Linked DNA regions of Homo sapiens: region 2 is linked to region 1. The links are contacts of gene promoters, found by promoter capture Hi-C in human tissues and cell types (Jung and others, 2019). All regions are on one chromosome and are shown on one strand. The core of a region is centred on a gene start or on the middle of the fragment in contact, and the rest is flanking DNA. Distances in the headings are between cores, read along the strand shown. Region 1 holds the start of VNN1 (vanin 1). Region 2 has its middle 110 kb from the start of MOXD1.

Region 1 (7,358 bases), core at 3,576-6,075:
TGTTTACAGGCTACATTAACAATGCAAAAATAGTTTTATTAAGTCCTATGCAGAGATATGTATTATTGTAACATTAGCAACTTGTGATATTACAGTTCCTGGCTTATAACTCCCATATCCTTTGTTAGGGTTTTTTTTTTGTTTGTTTGTTTGTTTTAACATTAGGGGGTTTTAGGCCTCAGGAGCAGGCCTCATGAAACAGAATCTCCCTCTCTGACCTTACCCTGTCCTCCCTTTACCTACCTAAGGCAGGACTATAATCTGATTGTGGCTCAAAAGACCCTCATTTCAGAGAGGGTCCCACCCCATACCCTAGAGGAAGAAATGCTATAAAGAGATGTCAAGACAAACCTGAACAGACAAGCTTTACTGGGTTTCCCCACTCAAACTGTTAGTATGGGATCATAACCTTTTTGTCCAATCGCATTTCTACATGGTTGTCAATCGTGACTATGTAATGAAGCTTCCATAAAAACCCAAAAGGACAGGGTTCGGAGAGTTTCCTTACAGCTGAACACGTGGAGGGTTCCTGGAGGGTGGCACACCTAGGGGTGCGTGGAAGGCTCTCCAGTCCTTCCCCCATACCTTGCTCTATGCACCTCTTCATTTGTATCCTTTGTAATATCCTTTACAATAAGCCACTAAAGGTAAGTGTTTCCCTGAGTTCTGTGAGCCACTCTAGCAAACTAATTGAACTAAAAAAAAAAGGGGTCATGGAAACCCCAACCCAGAGCCATTTGGTCGGAAGATCTGGAAGCCCAGACTTGTTACTGGTGGGAAGGAGGGGGCGGTTTTGTGGGACTGAGCCCTTAACATGTGGGATCTGATGCTATCTTTGGATAAATAGTATTTGGATTGAACTGGAAGATAGCCAGCTGATGTCTGATGCAGAGTCAATTGCTTGCTTTCTAGTGGGGAGAAATCTCCACCTACTTGGGAGTAACCAGTCTTTTGTGTTAGTTGTTGTGCTATGAGACCAGAGGAAAAATGGATTGTTTCTCCTAAAACCAGATTAATGTCAACAAAAGAATTGACATTGTGTTGTAGCCACTAAATATTAAAATATGGGCGTATATTTTGAGTAGCAATGCAGAGGCCGACTGCCAATCAATCTTTTATCAGACACAAGTATATGGACACACTTTTACATGCTGTGCACATGGCTTTTCAGAGTTCACCAGGTGAAGTGCAAGAGGCAGTGCCCACTCCACTCAGTCCTTGCTCTTCCCTCCTTTTCCCTTGTTTCTGGTTCTCTCTGCGTAAGCTGGGCAGGACTTGCTTCTGAGTTCCTCTGGGGACCTGCTGCCTGGGGTGGGGTGATCACTGCTGTGCTAGCAAAATCCAGAATACTGTGGGTCTTGCCCTATTCTGGACAGTGCGATGTCATGTTTTCCTTGCAAAAGGCAATCTGCTCCATCTATGCAAGTTTGGTTGGAGGAGTCTGGAGGTATCAATTAGGGCTTTTGTCTACACTCAAAGTCATTTCCTTGGAGACAATTCTCCCAGTTTCTACTTTGTGTGAGCAGAAGGGCTGCATTTGGGGACCTTGGCTGGCTGTAGCAGTAGGGTTAAGGATCCAGAGAACCAGCCTAGGAGTTGTAGTAGAGGCTGCTGGTGCCTCCCAGTTCCATGTCCTGCTGATGATACTCTACTGCAAGAACTGCACTGTTTCTATTTCTATTTCTTTCTTTCTTTCTTTCTTTTTTTTGAGACGGAGTCTCACTCTATCACCAAGCTGGAGTGCAATGGCGCAATCTCGGCTCGAGGCAACCTCCGCCTCCCGGGTTCAAGCAATTTTCCTGCTTCAGCCTCCCGAGTATCTGGATTATAGGCGCCCCCGCCCCCCACACTGCTCCCTTCCATGCCCAGCTAATTTTTGTATTTTTAGTAGAGACAGGGTTTCTCCATGTTGGTCAGGCTCATCTCAAACTCCTGACCTTTGGTGATCCTCCCGTCTCGGCCTCACAAAGTGCTGGGATTATAGGCATGAGCCACCGCGCCTGGCCGAACTGCATTATTTCATCTGAAGATTTGCTCTCAGCTAGTACATGCTAAGTAGGCCAGAAAGGGTAGATTCATGTGGCAGTGACATGCTGGAGGAGGGACAAGGTTATTGGTCCTATGATTTAGTCTCAGTCTTTTAGTGAGCCTGTACCCCTGGGTTTATGAACTTCACTTGGCTTTTTTCTTCTGCCATTAGTTGGCATAAAAACAAGCTAGAGATGAGATTTTCCCTTTCCCCAAGTTAAAGATTAGAGTGGCTGGGGTTGGCATTTTTCCTTCCCCTAGGTAGGTTAGGCTCTGGTAAAATACTTTACTTTGAGGGCAGGCTTTTGTTAAGAAGAACAGACCAGAACTCTCAAGGTTGTCCACCCTGAGCCTCCACCAATTCGTCAATTACAGTTCAAGTGAACCCACGGTACTGGCGCCAGCCGCAGAGGACTCTGCTCGCAGTACACTCTTAACCTCTGTATCTGCCTATCTCTGCAGTTCTGAGGACCGCAGTTTATCCTGTGATCTCAATTCTCTGATGCATCCTAGAAAAGTTGTCGATTTTCATTTGTTTAGCTTTTTTCTTGGTGTGAGCATGGGAAAAATGACTGCCAAGCTCTTTATGAGTTGGACTAGAAACTCCACGGGAGGTTTAATATTTTTAATCTAAGAAGGTCAAGAAGTAATTTTTTAACCTCTTGCCAACTCATCTCAGTTTTAACTTTTATTTCAGTGCTTCCTTTTACAAATTGTTACATAATAATGACATCTTTTTGTGAAATATGTGGTATTCCCACCCACCTGGGCATGGAAAGGCCCTAAGAGGTCAGCAAGCAGTTAGAGAAGCTGGTGTTTACCGGAAACTCAGGAGAACCAGCCAACCACAACCCCTGGGTTACCTTGGCAATTGCAGAATAAATGCATTATAGTTACTAAAGTAAAAAATTAGATATGCCTGTTTGCAGATTGAACTATAAAAATACCATTCAAAGACAAATAGATCTAAAAATAAAATGGAAAAACATAAACACTAATTCTGTAAATATTATACTTAATGCACAACTGAAACAAAATTTGCCAGCTTACTCAATATCAAAATCTATGAACAGTTTTTCTATTTTATATAATTTCCCTCTCCTCTCTCTGGATCTCGCTCCCCAGCTCATTTTTTCTTTTTTTTGCTCTGATTCTTTATACACCTCTGTTGCCTCTGTGATAAGCAGCTTCAAAGATGGTTCCTAATGCTTTATTGGATAGAATACAACAAAAGCGATGAGGTGTTGCTTCCCCAATTACATTACGAAGCATCCGTGGCTTCCATCTCCAGTGGGTTCACTTGCTGTCTGGCTCTAAGGGAATCCAGATACCATAATGCGGGCTGCCCTATGGTGAGGTTTGCATCACTAGGAACTCATGTCTCTGGGCAACAACCAATGAGGTCTTGATCCCTGCCGTCAGCCACATGAGGGAGCTTGGAGCTCGGAAGTGAATCCTCCTGGAGTCAAGCCTTGATATAGCTAGCCCTGGCAGCTGCTTGACTGCAGCCTTGTGAAAGAGACCTTGGGCCAGAGGCACCAGCTAAACTGCCCCTGGATTCCTGACCCAGAGAAAGTGGGAGATGATGTATTTTTGCTTTTTGAAGCTGCTGAATTTGGGGATAATTTGTTATATAGCAATAGAAAATGAGTAACTCTTTTGTATTCCTCTTTGTCCTGGCTTCCCCATTTTGAGGAAAATAAAGTAAATCAAAGTGTAGAGCTGAAATATTCACATGAAAATAATAATAAAGTTTTAAAATTATTTGAATGTCTTGTGTTGACATTCCAAAATATATGAATTCCAAAAATTTATATGTTGAAGTCCTAACTGTCAGTATCTTAGAATGTAACTTTTTTGGAAAAGGGGTCATTTCAGATCTAATTAGTTAAGATGAAGTTATACTGGAGTACAGTGGGCACTAAATCGAATTGGTCCTATGATTGAGTCTCAGTCTTTCAGTGAGCCTGTACCCCTGGGTTTATGACCTTCAGTTGGCTTTTTTCTTCTGCCCTTATTTGGCATAAAAACAAAGCAGGTGGATCACCTGAGGTCAGCAATTTGAGACCAGCCTGCCCAACACGGCGAAACCCTATCTCTACTAAAAATACAAAAAATTAGCCTGGCGTGGTGGCGGGCGCCTGTAATCCCAGCTACTTGGGAGGCTGAGGCAGGAGAATCACATGAACCCGAGAGGCGGAGGTTGCAGTGAGCCGAGATTTCGCCACTGCACTCTAGCCTGGGTGACAAGAGTGAAACTCCATCTCAAACAACAACAACAATAAACAAACAACAACGATGACAAAAAAAGCTAGAGCTGGGATTTTCCCTTTCCCTGTGTTAAAGATTAGAGTGGTGTCCTCACAAAAAGGGAAAACTTGGATACAGGCACACACATGGGGAGAATAGCATATGAAGAGACACAGGGAGAAGGCAGCCATCTATGGGTCAAGGAGAGAGGCCTGGAACACATCTTTCCTTCACCGCCCTCAGGAGGAACCAACTCTGCTGACACCTTCATCTGGGACTCCCACCCTCCAGAACTGCAAAGCAATAAATTTTTTATTTTTTACACCACCCAGTTTATTGTATTTTGTTAGGCAGCCCTAGCGAACTAATGTACATAGAGTTCTTGAGTTAATCTTCACAAATTACTGCAATAAGGTAGGGTCTTTTGTTATGTAACAATGCTATGAAATCATAGCGTTTTCTTAATTAACTTCCGTAGTTTAAGGTACTAAGTTCTGGACACCACGTGTCTTCTTTCTATAAATACCAGGACATGCTCTGTTTTTCAGCACTCATTGGACTTCAGCATGACTACTCAGTTGCCAGCTTACGTGGCAATTTTGCTTTTCTATGTCTCAAGAGCCAGCTGCCAGGACACTTTCACTGCAGCTGTTTATGAGCATGCAGCGATATTGCCCAATGCCACCCTAACACCAGTGTCTCGTGAGGAGGCTTTGGCATTAATGAATCGGAATCTGGACATTTTGGAAGGAGCGATCACATCAGCAGCAGATCAGGTACCATCTCTACCATCTCTCCAGTGTACTGGATTCTATGAGAAAGGAGGGGGTCCTAGGAGACAGGGCCACTGTCAGGGTCAGTTACACTTTTAGATGATATATGTATCAGAGTAGCCAAGAACCTTTATTTTACAGTTAGAATTCTACTTTCCTCTCAAAATTAGAGCAAGGACTTCCCTAAAAGTAAGAACAAAGTTAAGAAAAGAACAATTTGCTCATTATCAAGAAGCAGCAGACCTTTGAGGAACTGGCCATAAATTCAACATCTTTGTTCCCCTTTTCTGGTACAGATGGAGGATGGAGGATAAATGGGTCAGGGACTAGGTGCTATTTTCAGAGTATTAGTGGCCTTCATGTACTCATGTGCTATTAAGGCTTTGCAGGTTTTCGAATAAATTTATAATCTGAAAACAAATTTAAGTTTTCAATTCCTTGCCAGCATGCATTATATACTTCACACTTCATTCTAATTACAAGATAAAAGTATATGTAATGCATTGTGAGTCCTTAAGTTTAGTGAAGGTTTCAGTTTGAAGTTAATCATACAGTATAAATTGTGGTTTACACAAATATTATTTTAAAAGCTATTGATCGATTAGGTGTAGACCAGGAATACATGAAGTGTGATAAAAGTCATGGATAAATGTGTATTACATATATCTATAAATATATATTCTTTTGTGTTGTTGAGTTAAGGTCTCACTCTGTCACCCAGGATGGAGTATAGTGGTGTGATCACGTCTCACTGCAGCCTTGACTTCCCGGGCTCAGGTGATTCTCCCACTACAGTCTCCAGAGTAGCTGGGACCACAGATGCATGCCACCGTGCCCAGCTAAGTTTTGTATTTTTTGTAGAGATGGGATTTTGCCATGTTGCCCACGCTGTACTTGAACTCCTGACCTCAGGTGATCCACCTGCCTTGGGCTCCCAAAGTGCTGGGATTACAGGCATGAGCTACCGTGACTGCCCTATATTCTTATATATACTAATATTTAAAAGGTTATCAGGAGTTCTGATGTTCTTTTTCATCCTTAGTCCAACTATTTCCTTGAAGGTCACAGAGCTTTTTAAGGTGACTCTCTAATTGGAAGGTGCCCAGGTTAGCTCAGGCAGTACTTGTAGGCATGGGACAGTTCAAGTAACCAGTTTGTGGCTCCTCTTTTTCTGAGAAGCAGGAATCATGTTTGCAGGGGAAAGCTAGGGCAGAGGAGGAAATAAACAGAATATTTAAGTTATTAATCAGTCTTGACACAGGCACAGTCATCAGCGAAAGTTCAAGGAGAGGCTTGGTTCCAGGATAAGCTAGGTTTATAGTTAACGACTGCCATAGGAAACAACAATGGCAGGATTAGAAAATTAAAATGCTTGACTAAGCCAGGTGCGGTGGCTCATGTCTGTAATTCCAACACTTTGGGAGGCTGAAGCAGGCGGATCACCTGAGGTTGGGAGTTCAAGACCATCCTGACCAATATGGAGAAACCCCATCTCTACTAAAAATACAAAAATTAGCCAGGCGTGGTGGCAGATGCCTGTGATCCTAGCTACTTATGAGGCTGAGGCGGGAGAATCGCTTGAACCCGGGAGGTGGAGATTGTGGTAAGCCGAGATCTAGCCATTGCACTCCAGCCTGGGCAGCAGAGCGAAACTCCATCTGAAAAAAAAAAAAAAGAGAGAAAAAAAAATGCTTGACTAGAAGCCCAAACCTCACCATTATGTAACATATCCATGCAACAAACCTGCATTTGTACCCTTTGAATCTAAAATTAGAAATAAAGAAAAGAAAAGAAAAAGAAAAAGAAGTGACAGTGCACTGAAAAAAAAGGAAATTAAAATGCTTTGGAAAAGAAAATAAATTATAAAAATATAGAAAACAAAATAAGATTTAAGGGGTGTGGGGGAAGCCCAAATAGTTGTTACTCAGCCACTCAGCTCCTCAGCTCCTCTTGCAGGCCCCCCTTTGGATTAAGTTGCATTTTTAACAGGGTGCGCATATTATTGTGACTCCAGAAGATGCTATTTATGGCTGGAACTTCAACAGGGACTCTCTCTACCCATATTTGGAGGACATCCCAGACCCTGAAGTAAACTGGATCCCCTGTAATAATCGTAACAGGTAAAGAAACAACTTGTGAAAAATTCACTAGTAAACATCAACTTGATTTACCTGGGAAAACTTTGTTGATGATCATTGCATAGATCCATGATCAATTCTTAAGTTTCAGTATAGCTTATTTTTCATCTACTATGGGTATATTTACTGGGAGAGCAAATATGAATTATGAAGTCACAGAAGTCAGAGC
Region 2 (7,358 bases), core at 1,531-4,030, 420 kb after region 1:
AAATATTGTCAGATAACTTTAACTTTTTCTCAAATGGTTTGGAAAAATTATCTATCCATCTATCTATCTATCATCTATCTATCTATGTGGTATCTGGCTATGTATCTACAGAGAGAGACATGTAAAATGATAATAATGGGTGAGTCTGGTTGGAGAACATAAGATTTCTTTGTACTATTGTTGCAATTTTTTAAGTTTGAAATTATTTCAGAATAAAAAGCTAGAAATGCAGAAAACATCATGAAGAATCCAGCTACAGCACAGTGATCCAGGTAGGTTTTCTTCCCTTTGCAGTATTCCTACATTTTGAGGTGGTAAAGAGAGAAACTAGATGGTGCTTACTCCTCAGATACCCCTGAGAGAGGGCAGAGATGACTGCAAGTTTGTCAGTTCTGACTAAAGATAGGATGTGCTTCCAGTTTGGAAGGAAAAAAAAAAGAAAAAAGGAACCACAAAACAAAAAACAGAGGGCTTGAGGGACCCAGGGAGTGAGGAAAAATCCAAAAAACTAAAAAAAAAAAAAAAAAAAAAAAAGGAAGAGGTCTTGCAGGCTGGAAATCACTTAAAAATAATATATTTATTTTGCTCTCCCCCTGATTATAAACCTAATGTGTAATGCCCATTTGCTAAAGAAAACTTAGAAAAGTATGATAATTTTTTAAATAATAAAATCTGTTAATCCTATTGACCAAAGAATAAATAAAACCTGTTAATAAATAAAATCTGTTAATTCTATTTCCCACTTCTAACTTTTACATTGCATATGCTTCTAGTATATGTCTGCAAAGGTGTATATCTGTGTATATTCATATATAGATGGAGATACAGATGTTAGGTAACACTAGCTTCTGAAACAAATTCCAAAATATCAATACTTTAACACAATGAAGTTTATTTTTCATCAATTAATTGCTCAATGTGTGTTCATCTGGTCATTGGCTTTCCTTCTTGTGGTGATTCCGGGACCCAGGATCCTGTGGCCTTATCATTCCTAGGGCTCAGGGTCATTTGCATTCCGCCTGCTAATGGAGAAGGACCTGACCTAGAAGGGGCAGAAATCACTTCCACTTTCACCACGTTGGTTAAAATAAGTCACATGGCCTCATTGAAATGCAAGAGGGGCTAAGAATGTCATCTATCTTTGGGTACCTGGAGAATGACAACACTACAGAAAGGAAGACATCTCTGCTGCAATATATGTTTTTAGTAAAATTGACTTTCATCTACTCAAATGATTCCAAGATTTTTGAGTTTTAAAAACAATGATCAAACCAACATAGGGTTGTCAACTTATGTTTGGCAAAATAGGATACTAAACAGAATGGTTACTATTTATTTAATAAATTAACAAATTGTATTGAGCCTATGTTGAGCCATGCTCTGTACTACAGCGTTGGGCTTACAATTGTGATGAAGCCCATAGCTGAGTACATTAAACCTCTTATCACCAACATTTCATTTTACAAATTGGAAGCATTCAAAATAAATATCAGTTCTTCAAATTGAATAAATTTAGCTTTACAGAAAGCTTACATCATCATCATGGACCATCCTTTCTCCATAGATTATGTGGACTATGAACATAGTTTATATCATATTGAACATCTTAGCCCTACAAGATTTTAATTGACAGTTGTATCTAAATCCAACATAGTCAGACTGGTACTTTATGAGTAGAAAATGGTCAGTTGAACAGGCTCATGGCAGCATCCATTACTGCCCAGGCCAGAGCTGTGATCCATGGAAACTATGAAGAGTCATGGAACATTGTTACAACTTAAAACAGGCTTATTGCATAACGTCTCTGTCTTAAATATAATAATGTGCATTTGAAAGTCCAAGAAGAGTTATATAGTATGAAACATTTCTCAAACTCATTTCACCAAACCCCTGTTGTGGTGGAGCAATGTTCCCAAAGGAACAAACTCTGGGGCACACAACTTTCTGAGCAGAGCATGTCCAGGTTTCTTTAACAGGTTCTTGGAAACTTCCAAACTGTTCATGGGCAACTGTAAAACAGTCCAACAGACATAAGCCTTTCACTTGGGTTCATGGTCTATTCCTTATTTGCCGTGTTATTTTGCCAATAAACAAACACACCCTCATTTTTTTTTTTTTTTTTTGAGAGAGAGAGAAATCCTCCCACCACAGCCGCCTGAGTAGCTGGGACCACAGGTGCGCACCACCATGTTTGGCTATTTTTATTTTTTTCTGTTTTTGGTAAAGACAGGGTCTCACCATGTTGCCCAGGCTTGTCTCAAACTCCTGAGCTCAAGCAATCTATCCTCTTTGGCCTCCCAAAGTGCTGGGATTATAGGCTTGAGCCATTGTGCCCGGCCCTCTGTTTTTTATTAATCTAGAGTGGTACAACTTACAGAAAAAATGAAAAACAATTTACCATTTTCTCAGGGAATATGCTAAAATGAATTATTTGACATCAATAAGGTATTTCAGAAATGTTGACAAAGCTGCATATCTTTGGAACATTTCAGACCTATAGATAGAGACTACCTTTATTTCCTAAGTAATTTTATTCCTTAAGAGAATGCTAAATTTCAAAATCCTGCCTTATTTCCCAACAATGAAAGCAGAAAAATTAAAAAACAAAATTCATCAGATGAGTTATAAGTGACTCTCTTTGACCAGTCACAGCTTTTGCCCTTTCTAAAGGTTTTCCATCACAAAGAGCAAAATATTTCCAGTGACTTTTTTGGTCATCATGATGTTGCTAAATTGCTTTACCATAAGGAAAACCTTACGTTAAAAAGGCAACTTTTAATGAAAGTTGTTTTATAGAGTTCCCTTCATTGTCCTTTGATTAACAATAGCATGAGGACTCTGTGGCCTCAATCTAAGGTTTATTTAATAAAGACATTTCTTTTCCAACTTCTTTAATATTTGTTGTGGAATTGATATAATGTGAAAAAAGGAATTTGGGGGGAATAATATACAAATGTAGAATGAAAGCCTGAATTACCCAAGTTTCCCTCTTATTTTTTACTAATCCATTAAATATTACTAATCAAAATAATGCCATACATTTTTATAATGTTTTGGAATTTGCAAAGTGTTTTCACAATATTCTCATTAATGCTTAAAACTGCTTTTACAAGTGAATAGTTATATTCAGAAAAGGTAAGTAGACAGCATGTTGTACTGTGGTAATTATGGGAGACCTAATTTCCAATTGCTTTACTTTAAACTATGTGGACATAAACTATATCCAAAATGACTTAGTAAATTTCTCTTTTCCCATCAGTAAAGTAGTGATAATAATTTCTAATCTTAAGAAGTTGCTTGTGGATTAAATATGGTAATAAAGATACAGCATCTGACACATTGAGCTCACTCAATATCAGTTTTCTTCTTTCCTTTGCAAGACCCCATGTTTAGGATGCACAATTCCTGGCAACAGAGGCAGGTTTCCTATTTTATTTTCTATACCATTTTCCGGATATAATCAATTGAAATTTGGTTTTAACTGAATCAGTTTTTCAAAGTGAATGACACTTAATCAAATGAATATTAGGTCTGAGTGAATTTGGCAATCATTCTCAAAAAGAAAAAAAAATCAATGACTAGCTACTTGTCATTTCTCATGTTTGTCAAAAGGAAAGACATTATTCTTTGCTCTTTTTCCTCCTGGAAATAATCTGCTGTCATGAAACTAATAAAGTTAAAATGAACCAATCTACCTTTCTCGTGTTTTTTATGATTTGCAAAAATGGAGTTCTAGTTTTTTATGAGGAAAGCTTTACAATTTTGGCCTATTTTTCCTTGCTTCATGAGACTTTTCCTTCCACATTTGGTTCATGTGTCTTCACCTCACTTTGACTATTTCATAAGTTGTCTTCTCTTCTTAGAATATATTTAAAAGACAGACTTTTTGAAATAAATCTATCAAATAAAACTATATTACTATTAACTGAAAATAAGGAATAATATGGGAAATAAAGGGAAGAGGGGGATTTTGTGTATTAAACAAAGGATGTGTTTCTCCCCTAAAGCCATTAGATGGCTTACTGCATATCTGGTATAAATCCTGCCAATGTTGGCTTGGAGGTATTAGACTTCTCAAAGAACCTGCCCTGGCCCTTCCCAGCCTACATACTTATTTCCCTATTGCCTTTATTTTCTTGCTAATTCTAAATTCAAATTACCTTAAGCTTCTTAAAGATTTTTAAATCCTCCATTTTTAAGGTTAACACAGATTTCCTAATGTCTGCTCTTTGCTTAAGTGACATGTGGTTGTACAGATGGGTTCTGCAGGAAGTCCATATGCAGCCTTTAAATAATTTTAAAATAATTCTTATTGAGGGTTAAGCTCTAAGATCAACCTTAAGTCTCCTAACCTTTTACTGTAATGATTCTGAGTCTCTTTTGAAATTTTCCAAATTGTTAGTTTGTTGTAGCTTGCATTTTATACTTCACCTTCTGTTTTGAGATTACTGTATTTAAATCTTTAACTTCTTGTTCTTTTATCTTCAATTTTTTGTTTTTAAATTTAATTTCCATCCTTAATTCTAATCTAATCAGTTTAAGCATTTTTTGCTAATCTTTTAATTGTTTAGCCCATTAGTTATTTTAAGAAGATATACTTCTTTATTTTAATAACAGCTTGAGGAAGTGCCTAAGCCAATTGTGAGCAGTGGTGAGAATGCACTTTGTAGACAGAAAAAGTGAAGGATTTTTTTTCCCTTAGAACTCTCTGCATTTACATCACTGGCTCCCTGTAAAGAATTTCCCAGGCCAAATGAGGATTCTGCAATGAACTTGCCTAGTCATTTGCTAATCTTGCTAGAGTTAGAAGCACCGTCATTCAGATGGGATACTGGAATTGCAAGAATGGAATTGCTTTCCATAGACCATTTAGTCCTCATATGAAGAACCGTGTTCTTTAATACTCCGTTATCTCCAAATGACAAAACCATAGGGTTTGGAGTAAACTATGACAATTTCCATTCCCTAGTCAGGAGCTGTCTTTGTGCAGTGCACTTGGAGAAATGAGCCATGCGGTGTACTAAGCCTTCTCTGCAAGTTGCCAGCTTTCTTCTCTTATTTGGTGATTGCTAATTAGATACAGAACTTTTCCCTTTCCTTCTTTTAAAATCTTCCTTTTTTTTTTATGCTTAACAGAGATTTCCTATAGTCTGTTCTTTGCTTAATTGACATGTGGTTGTACATATGGGTTCTGCAGGAAGTCCATATGCAGCTTTTAAATAATTTTAATTTGTCATCAATCATTCACCCTTGAACCAGTCTGCCGCATACTTGAAATACGCGAGTGAACAAGAAAGCTAATGATGAAATCTAGTGAAGAAAACAGAGACTGTAGTTACAAATTTTTTTAAAGTCTCTTATTTCTGAGTCCTCTTTACTTAGCTGACATAGCATCAGTTCTGATGGCCATAGGGCATAATTTCTTTTCACATATAGTATACATATTTACTTTTCATAATCTTTGGCATATATGTTGTGTTCAATTAAGTATTGTATTTGCCCTCAATGTTAGTGGTATTTTTAGAACTATCATATTTTCTATATTATAGAAAATATAGAAAAGATATAAATTTTTCTATATTTAGAAATATTAGTTATTTTAAGAAGATATACTCTTTAATAACAACTTGAGAAGTGCTTAAGCTGATTGTGAGCAGTGGAGAGAATGCAATTTGTAGAAAAAAAAGGGAAGAATTAAAAAAATTTTGTTTAAGTGGAAGAATTCTTCTAAATATAGAAGAATTTATTAACATCCAATAGTTTAAAAGAACTTTCTTTAAGTAAGATATGTTTGCATCTCCAATAAGAATATTATTTTATGTTATTTGGATTGATTCAACTCTACCTAATGTATAAATTATTCTTCTGAGCACTCTGCCTGCGGGAGTGAAAGGGAAAGGTGGGATCAGTGAGCATAGGGTCTTTAAAGAAGGAGAATCTTGGTTCTGTACTGTAGCTAATTTTGCATATCTACAGAAAAACACTTGGAATTGTTATACAATGCTTAGTCTCCAGGTAATAGTACCTTTGGTACTTACTCTTATGTGAAGAACTGACATTAAATCTTTGTCTTACTTCAATACAATGAACAAAGGATTGATTTAAAGTTGATCCCAGTACAATGAAGAAGCTAGAATAGAATGTTAATTAAAAATCATCTTAAAATCGTTATTTAAAAATGTATGTGTATTAGACTATCTAATGTGATTTAATTGAAAAGCTTTCACATTTCTCTTTGTAACCCCTGTAAAGTTTTCAGCACAGTCAATTGCATGTAGTGATTTTATTATAAATATTAGTTGAATTGCTATGAAATCGTGTAGTTTTAGATAATCTCCAAGGATGTTTTTTAAAATTTCTTTTAAACAGTAGATTGCCAAGAGCCCAATAGGCTAAGTGGGGCTTAGCATAAATATGCTTTTTATAGCTCTTAAAAATATGAATTTAGAGTGTTTTGTATCAACGTGATATAGAGCATGTAATGTCAGATTAAATAAATCAAGCTTTTCCATATAAACCCCTTTCATGGGCCATCTTATTGCTGGTCGAAAAACACAGTAAACAGAACTATAAGACTAGCTTGAGGCTAGGTCTTATAGGCAGGGCTTACTTTGTTAAAATTGATAACCATTCATGTGATTTAGCTTCATGAACTCAGAAGCCTACAGGATAGATGATAAACCAGTGCTAATTTCAGGCTGCTACCTGAAATTCCAAAAATAGATCATCATTATTTGGTAATGGGAAAGGTAACACATTACATCTTAGTGTTATTTCTTCCTGAGAGAGAAGAAATACAATGGGAATGTAGTGAAGACAGGAAGGCTGGAGGCAATGAACTGGTTGGCATACTCCAGGGAAAGAATGAACAAGACTACCTGCAAAGGCGATGGGTGCTAAAAGGAGTTTAAGACAACTTCCTCTCCCTTTTGCTGCGCTAGCACTATATATGTGCATAAACTACACATCCAAGATTTTCAAGATAATTTGCATTCAATGATTCTCTCCTGGTATCCATAAAAGCAGCAAAATATTTATTCCAGTGTAAAATGAGAGTCCATGGATTAACAAGTGGAAAAACAGAATTCAAATTTTAAAATGCCCCTCTCCCCTACCCCCATACACAAGAGAAACATTTTCTTTCAGTCTTCTGCAACTAGAGATGGACTTGATTAAGCAACAAGATTATGGGATAAGAGATAAGAGATGTTCCTTTTCCCTTTTGGTGGTAGGTGTGACTTTACCAAAGAATAGAAGAGGTGACATATCATTGAGATACTTATTTGGTTTTAAAGAACATAAGTCCCATTGTGTGGGCAGATGCCCAGGCAGCTACAGAAACACATCATTCCTGTAGG

What was found. The method cuts DNA at HindIII sites, captures the fragments that hold promoters and counts their contacts. A contact is called where the count stands out against the background at its distance.
Region 2: a contact is called between a fragment that was not itself captured here and the fragment with the promoter of VNN1 in region 1, in 1 of the 25 tissues and cell types used here (thymus).

Annotation. Positions count from the first base shown.
Region 1 is chr6:132,711,522-132,718,879 of GRCh38, reverse strand. VNN1 (vanin 1) reads left to right here and starts at 4,825. Exons shown (of 7, transcript NM_004666.3): 1 at 4,825-5,054; 2 at 7,041-7,171. The coding sequence starts at 4,845. The HindIII fragment of the contact is 14,207 bases long and covers 1-7,358 here.
Region 2 is chr6:132,287,374-132,294,731 of GRCh38, reverse strand. No RefSeq gene overlaps it. Among named protein-coding and RNA genes, the nearest start is that of MOXD1, 110 kb to the left of the region's middle. The HindIII fragment of the contact is 4,827 bases long and covers 367-5,193 here.